2 separate regions of the Homo sapiens genome follow, and region 1 is linked to region 2. The links are contacts of gene promoters, found by promoter capture Hi-C in human tissues and cell types (Jung and others, 2019). All regions are on one chromosome and are shown on one strand. Each heading gives the region's core, a stretch centred on a gene start or on the middle of the fragment in contact. The rest is flanking DNA. Distances are from core to core; before and after follow the strand shown. Region 1 overlaps HOMER1 (homer scaffold protein 1). Region 2 holds the start of BHMT2 (betaine--homocysteine S-methyltransferase 2).

Region 1 (4,349 bases), core at 1,655-4,154, 340 kb before region 2:
ATGGACCATGTTTTTGGTATTGTATAATATCTAAGAAATTTTTGCCTAGCCCAAGGTCACAAAGAATTTTTTCAAGTTTTATAGTTTTATATCTTATAGAAGTTTTATATTTTTAATTTGCGTATAGACTATGAGATATGGGTTGAGATTTATTTATGTTTGTATGTGGTTATCCAATTGTTTTAGCACCATTTGTTTAAAAGACTGTTATTTCTCCTTCGTATTATCATACCTTTGGACCTTTTATAATTATCTTCATTTTAATAATTTTCATCTCTGTGTAGATCTACATTTCTCTCTGGGGTCATACTCTCACTTAAAGAACTTTCTTTAATATTTCTTGTAGGACACATCTTCTAGTAATAAATTATCTGAGCTCTTGTTTACCTGAAAAACTCTTTATTTCACCTTCATTTTGAAAGATATTTTTCCTATGTGTAGAATTCTAGGATGAGGATTGTTTTCTTTCAACACTGTCACTCCACTGTCTTCTGGATTGCATCATCTGTGATGAAGTATTACTATGCAGTAGTCCCTCCTTAACCACAGGGGATATATTGCATACTCCCAGTGGATGCCTGAAACCATGGATAGTAGTGAACCCTATATGTAGGGTTTATGTTTATGTTTTTTTCTGTAGATACATACCTGTGATAAAGTTTAATTTCTACAGTAGGCACAGTAAGAGATTAACAACATGAACTAATAATAAAATAGGACAATTATAGGAATATACTGTAATAAAAGTTATGTGAATGTGGTCTCTCCCTCTCTCAAAATATTTTATCATACTGTAATATTTTCAGACTATAGTTGACCATGTGTAACTGGAACCACAGAAAGAGAAACAATGAATAAGGAGCTACTGTAATTGTTATTTTTGTTCCTCTATGTATAATATGTTCTTGTACTTTTTGCATCTGTGGTTTCATGTCTTTTATTTTTTGAAAATACTCAGCCTTTATGTCTTCAGATATTTCCTCTGCCCTTCTCTCTTCTCCTTCTATGATTCTAGTTAAACATTTGTTAGACAGTTTACATGGCCCTTCATATCTTAGAAACTCTTTTTCTTTTTTCTCTTTGTGTTTCAGTTTGGCTGATTTCTCTTGATCTGTTTCCATGTTCACCGACTTTATGCAGCTGTGTCAAGTTCACTGAGCCTGTCAAAGGCATTCTTCACCTCTGTTGTTATGTTCTGTATTTCTAACATTTCTGTTGGGTTCTTTCCCATAGTTTTCATTGCTCTGCTAAAATTCACAATCTGAGTGAACGTGATGTCCTTCTTTCCACTAACACCTTTAACATTGCTATCTTACTTCCTTGATTTATTCAAGATCAAGATCAGATTAATCTCTGAGTATGATTCTGTTGATTGCTTTCTTTCTTGACAGTGAGGAGTGTTTTTTTTTTCTTGCTTTTTGATACATCTTGTAATTTTTTTTTTCATTGAATGCTAAACATTGTGTGGAGGACAGTAATGATGAACACTATTTCCTCCTAGAAATGGGTATGACTCTTCTGCTAGGCTGTTATTATGAAAGTTAGTCCATTTGGGGGTTGAAAGGGATTTTGATTTTGTTGTTGGTATGGTTACTATGAGTATGCTATAGCCTTTAAACATCTCTAGCATTACCTTGTGCTTAGGATTGCTAGAGGGTTCTACTCACTGCTCGACACTCATCTTTTGGTCTTTTTTTGTGTGTGTGCACACCTCAAAGAAGGTCTGTCTCTACAGTCTTGACCTTCCTGCAGTGGAAGGCTGCTATAATAGACGACAGAATGGGGTTCTCTGTTGTTTTTGTCCAGCCTCAGTCTTGGGTAGACCCTTTGTCCCAGGATCTCAGAAATGAGGCTTTCTCAGTGATCCTGCCCCTCTCCCAGTAACAGGTAAATTCAGCCTTGTGATAGTTGAGAGTCTTGTGTAGGAGTTTCCTGCCTCTGTCCCACAGGTTAGAGACCTCTGAATCCAGGACTATTTTCTGTTCCTCTCACAGAGTTACAGTGTTTTATTCTCTTTGCCCCCAGCCATAACAGGTCTTCACCTGAATCCAGGTTAAGTGGGAGAATGACAGGATTTAGGGGTATCCTTCTCCCATTGGTTTAAGATTTTGGTCCTGTGGAGAAGAAGGGTCTTGGCTAGACTTTGTGAATTTCCCAAATGGAAGTCTCTCCCCTCATCCAGGATCCTTTCTCTAGTCTCTCTCTCTGCCTCTCCAATCTTTCTCCTGAGAACCTGATAGAAGTCTGTGGTAAAGAGCCTGCAAGACGGTACAAATTCCCTTTTGTATCTCTGGCTCCCAAGAGCCTTAGAAATGCTTGTGGTAGCCATCTTGCTCATAAGTACCACTCCAAACATGAAATTGTGAAGTTATCTTCTTGATACAGGTAGAAAATAAAATGATTACACTTACCTAGATTTTATCATTAACGTATAGTATATTTCAAGATTTTACCAGAGTTGTATCTTAAACTTGAGCTTCCTTGGGTCTAAATACCAACCAAATATGAAAATACTGGATAATGCTAGGATGAATTTGAAGAATCTAGTAACCTACTCTAAACATATATTTCAACAGTCAAGCGTTTTAAAATAATTGATGTGGTGTTATAACTACCTAGACTACTCATATAAAAAGTACTTCTGCCAATCGGTATTAACTTGTAAATTACGCCAAAACAAGGCAACTAGTTCAGGAATACCAACCTTTTCTTAAACAGGTTTGTTGTAGATTCTCCATGTTCCAGGTCTACAGTGTTTTATAGATGAAATCCCTGTTACCGTATATGCATGCCTGATAAGTTTAAAATGGGAGTCAAGAAACTCCATATGATTCTACTACCCAAAACTAGTGTGAAATTCCATCCCTGATGTGAGAGCTAAAATATTTATATTTGAGGTTTTTATTAGTGTTGAAAGTTTTATTAAAATTAGTGTTATAAAATTTACTACTCATTAATTGATTTGATCTGAGGTTAGCCTTGCACTTATTTCATAGTGAATACCTTTACTTTTCATTTAGTGCATTGACTAAGCTTGCACAGATTGGCAAGCACCAGGTTTTGCTGGTAAGTGAAAGGATGGGTGTAATAACTGGAAAATACTTGTTGGAGAAAACTTGAATCAATGAAAGGAAAAAATGCAATCTGATAGATTCTGAATATAGAAAAAATTGGACAAAAATTCATAGAAAAAAATGAGAATCTGATTGAGAAGAAGAGCTCATCACAGAAAAGCCAGCTTGATTAGAACAGGAAATATAATCCATGTACTTCAATTCAGGAAGATGGGGCAAATTGATAGGTTACATAATGTGGGTTTAAAAAATTATGTTTATTAGTTTGCTTGAGTTGTCCTAAAAAATGCTGTAGACTGCATGGCTTAAACTATAGAAATCTATTTTCTCATAGTTCTGGAGGCTAGAAGTCTGAGATCAAGGCGTCTGCAGGGTCATTTCTTCCGAGGCCTCTCTCCTCGTCTTGTAGATGGCTGTCGTCTCTTTTTATGTTCGTGTGTCTGTGTCCTAATCCCCTCCTCTTGTAAGGACACCATTTATACTGGATTATGGCCCACCCTAATGACCACATTAAACCTTAATTACCTCTTTAAAGACTCTGTCTCCAAATACAGTCATACTGTGAGATCCTGGGAGTTAGAACTTCAATATATGAGTTTTGGAGGGACACAGTTCAGCCTCACGCACAGAATCGAAGAGGCAATCAGGACCGGGCACGATGGCTCATGCCTGTAATCCCAGCACTTTGGAAGGCCGAGGCGGGTGGATCACCTGAGGTCAGGAGTTAGCGACCAGCCTGGCCAACATGGTGAAACCCTATCTCTACTAAAAATATTAAAAAAAAAAAAAAATAGCTGGGCGTGGTGGTGGGCACCTCCCAGCTACTTGGGAGGCTGAGGCAGGAGAATCGCTTGAACCTGGAAGGCGGAGGTTGCATGAGCTGAGATTGTGCCATTGCACTCCAGCCTGGGCAACAAGAGCGAAACTCCATCTCAAAGAAAGAAAGAAAGAAAGAAAAGGCAGAATGTCAAGATCCTCTTGAACAGTACTGTTCAGTAGAACTTTTTGTCATGATGAAATGTTCTGTTATCTTTGCTGTCCAGGGTAGTAGCCACCAGTCATGTGTGGCTGTTGAGTGCATGAAATGTGTCTCAAATTCAAAGCTGAATTTTTTACTTTAATTTTGAAGTATTACATTTAAATAGCCACATGCTAATATTTGGATAATACAGATCTTGACTGATCTATTTATTTGACATATAAAGAACTGAGAACCAAAGTGCTTGAGTGTTGGGTCCGAGGTTACCCAGATAATTACTGAATACTTGTGATGTA
Region 2 (3,788 bases), core at 919-3,418:
ATTTGAGATCAGAGCATCTTTTAGCCCTTCCTTCACTGCTATTCTAACTACCTCAATTAATTACTATACCAGTATGATCCCTTCTTTAGTTTTTTTTTTTTTTTTTTTTTTTACTTTTAAGTTCAGGGGTACATGTGCAGGATGTGCAGGTTTGTTACACAGGTAAATGTGCATCATTGGAGGTTTGCTATATGGGTTATTTCCTCACCCAGGTATTAAGCCTAGTATCCATTAGTTATTTTTCCTGATCCTCTCCCTCCTTCCACCCTCCACCCTTCGATAGGCCCCAGTGTGTGTTGTTCCTCACCATTATACTAGTACGATCTAAAGTCAACTGTAAAATTATAAAGACAGGAACATGTAAAATAAGGAACCCTGTAAATTAATTTTGCAGTACATTTATATTTTCATTCCCTCCTCCCCATCAGTTTGGCAGTGAACCTGCCTTGCATCTGACAGCGAGCTCTAGGGTGCATTTATGCCCCCTTTTTGCAGATATCACTACGTAAGACCTCTGGGTTTAAGATCTGGCTTCAAGACATCTCTATTCATACTCAGTGGGGATCAACTTCACTGTGTAGTAGGAGGTGATCAGAAAAACCCAGTCTGTCTAAAATAACTTCCCCTTTTCCTAGATTTGCCAGCAGAACTGCTCTTTTGGATTTAAGACCTAATTGGAGGTCTTGTCTGTGGCAATTAAATGAATTCTTAAAATGTACCTGCTAGCTGAGGAGAGAGGTGAGATTAGTTCCTTCCCATTAACACCTTAACTCCCAGGTACACATTCACATGGATTAGTGTGTGATAATCTTGGTGTTGTAACAGTAGAGGCCCCAAAGACACTGAACAAAAACAGGGCATTTTAAAAACGTTTAAAAATATGAACTGTAAAGATGAACATAGCATTAGAGAAAGTTGAGAGAAAAAAGCACAATGTTCTTTGATTATTTTTATTAACTGTATTCTTTCAATGCTCACATTTTGCTTTTATAACCTGAAAAAATATCCTAAAACATGCTTTTTAAACCAATATTCCACATCTTGTGTAACTATTACCATTATTGTGTCCTTCCTTACAGTGTGTATATAAATATTTGTATATGGTTGGGATCAGTTTGTGATATATTTCCTTTTGCAACTTAACATTGCCAAGGCACTTAGCTGGTTCTCATACTAAGTTATTTAACTGTCTAATAACTTAAGTAGATGAACCTTAATTTATTTAGAATCCCGTATTGCAGAGTATCTTGGTCGTTTCTAACTTTTTAGTATAAATAGCTCGGTGGTGCACATTTCCACGCATAAACTGCCCCTCCTCCCTTCCTCCCATTCTGAATGACAGGGCTGGAGCGGGTGGGGGTCTCTGAAGGGTCCTGGGGATGTCTTTCGTCCAAGCTCATGCCCTTCCTAATTTTGCTTAGTCACTCCTTCATCCCACCCCCACACATACTCGACGTAGAAATGGCTGGGCATAAAGCCAACATCTGGTGACCAGACCAGGAAAGGGGCCAGGAGCTGGGGACCACCGGGTGAGAGGAGGTTGAGGGGTGCTAGCGAATCCCACCTACCCTCCACCCTGCACCGCAGCTCTGGGGGCGTCCTTGCCCAGGACTAGTTTCAGACCAGCCGGCGACTCGCAAGGCCAGGCTGCTTGGCCAGGCTGCTGACTTTTCCAAAACGCGAGGGGACAGTCCGAAGAGTTCCCGGACGGATTAGCCCAAAGAGCTGCGGGCGAGGGTCGGTTGAGGGAAGAAAATGTGTGCGCGACATGCGTCCGAAAGCTAGACTTCTGATCCTCGCTCCCCGCGGGGCTGGACCCGTGACCCTGAGCTAGTCGCCTGACTCGCCGAGCCTCAGTTTCCTCACCTGTGAAATGGGGATAATTGTGAAGATGAGGAGATAACTTGAGCACAGCACTCTGTGCAGCGCCAGGCACCGAGTAAGGGCTCCATAAACGCTAACCAACCCGTGACAGGGGAAAATTGAGGCTCAGGGCCATCCCGTCCAAGTGTTTTGCCGAGGCCCCAGGGCTTGGCTAGGGATGGACGCCGGGTGTGAACGGAGTCGCTCGCAGCCCAGCGGCCAGGAGCTCCGCGAGGATCGAGGGGACGAAACTCACCTTCTTGGCCCCCGGGCGTCCAGCAGGTGCCATGGTGCCGCGGCTCTGTGGGCGCCGGGTTCCCGGGCGCGCGGCCGTCTAGGAGCCCGCCCCCAGCCCGGGGGGAGGATCCGACCCCCGCCCCGCCGGCCCCGCGGCCTCAGGCTGCCCGCTGGCCTCGGAGCAGGCGCCTGCGCCCTCGGCCTCGGCCTAGTCATGCTCCGTCCCGGCGCGCAGCTGCTGCGGGGCCTCCTGCTGCGGAGCTGCCCGCTGCAGGGCTCCCCCGGGCGCCCGCGCTCTGTCTGCGGCCGGGAAGGGTGAGTGGGGCCCCGTCCTGCTCAGAGGCGACGGGGCGGCTGCGGGGGTGGGAGCCAGAGGCTGAGGCAGGCTCAGGGGTTAGGAGCGCTCTGGCCTCCAAGAAATAGGCCTTGATATATCTTCTCGAATTATCTTTTAATTATAAAGTGAAACAGTATCCAAAGGTTCCCCGTGTAAAGTCTCTCCTGCCCCAATCCCCTTGGCCAGTGAACAATTGTTAATAGTGTCTTCTGAATCTAACCAGAGACAGTCTACGCATAGGCAAACACAGGTCAGTATAGGTTTTCCTTTGGCTTTTTGACATCTTGCTTTTTACAATTATCAATATATCTTGGAGATTGTTCCATATCAGCACACACTGACTTGCCTTGTTCCTTTTAATGGCTGCATAGTTTTCCATCCTGTCAATATTCTACACTATCGTTAGTCTATTCATTAACATTTAAATGGTTTTTGGTTGTTTATTACTGCAAATAACGTGCATGTGAAAATTCTTAGGCATCTATCTTTGAGTACATATGGGAGTCGGTAGCAACAGTTTTTAAAGGTGAACTTGTTAGGGAAAAGGTTACGTGCATCTGAAAGATTGAAAGACAGCAACACATTCTCCAAGTGGGTGGCAAGAGTTTGCATGCGGCACACCAGTGTGTGTCTGTTTCCCACATCTTCCCTGGTTCCCAGAATAGCCCATTTTGTTATCTTTGCTAAATCTGATAGGTAAAAATGGCATGTCCTTGTTTTGATTGGTCTGTATTTAAATATGAGCAATGCTGAACATCTTTCGACTTCTTATATTTGTAGATTATTCCTGGTTGCCAGGAAAGGCTTGTTTATCAGCATCACTCAACATTATTATGAGTTGATTCGAATTTTATTTTATGTCCTATGACCTGAAATTCTGGAATCAGAAGACCTGCTTTTGAGTTCCATCTATCCATTCAACAAATATTTACTGGGTGTTGTGATGTGCTAGGTTTGTCTCCAGTACTGGGAATGCAGTAGCCACCAACTCACAGTTCCTGCGCCATCTGTTACACAGAATGTGACCTTACACTTCTGAGGTTCAGTTTCCTCATCTATAAAATGAGGATACTAATTTTGCTCTATATAACTCACAGGATTGCTGTGAATATTAAATAAGAGAATGCATGTGAAAGTGCTTTGTAAATTGTAAAGCAATGCAAAAATATTTATAATAATGATGTTTTTAATCCAGTGCAAAATAAAATGGAAATTTAACAAACAAACTGATTAGATAAATAAGATACAAATTTCAAGACTATCCAAAAAATTCATATTTTGGCTGAGTGTGGTGGCTCATGCCTGTAATCTCAGCACTTTGGGAAGCTGAGGTGGGCAGATTACTTGAGGC

The links. The method cuts DNA at HindIII sites, captures the fragments that hold promoters and counts their contacts. A contact is called where the count stands out against the background at its distance.
Region 1: a fragment that was not itself captured here is called in contact with the fragment with the promoter of BHMT2 in region 2 in 1 of the 25 tissues and cell types used here (dorsolateral prefrontal cortex).

The regions. Positions count from the first base shown.
Region 1 is chr5:79,404,381-79,408,729 of GRCh38, reverse strand. The region is part of intron 5 of HOMER1 (homer scaffold protein 1); the gene reads left to right. Among named protein-coding and RNA genes, the nearest start is that of HOMER1, 110 kb to the left of the region's middle. The HindIII fragment of the contact is 6,465 bases long and covers 1-4,349 here.
Region 2 is chr5:79,068,147-79,071,934 of GRCh38, reverse strand. It overlaps BHMT2 (betaine--homocysteine S-methyltransferase 2), which reads right to left and starts at 2,168. Exons shown (of 8, transcript NM_017614.5): 1 at 2,120-2,168. The coding sequence starts at 2,152. It overlaps DMGDH (dimethylglycine dehydrogenase), which reads left to right and starts at 2,261. Exons shown (of 16, transcript NM_013391.3): 1 at 2,261-2,415. The coding sequence starts at 2,315. The HindIII fragment of the contact is 19,729 bases long and covers 1-3,788 here.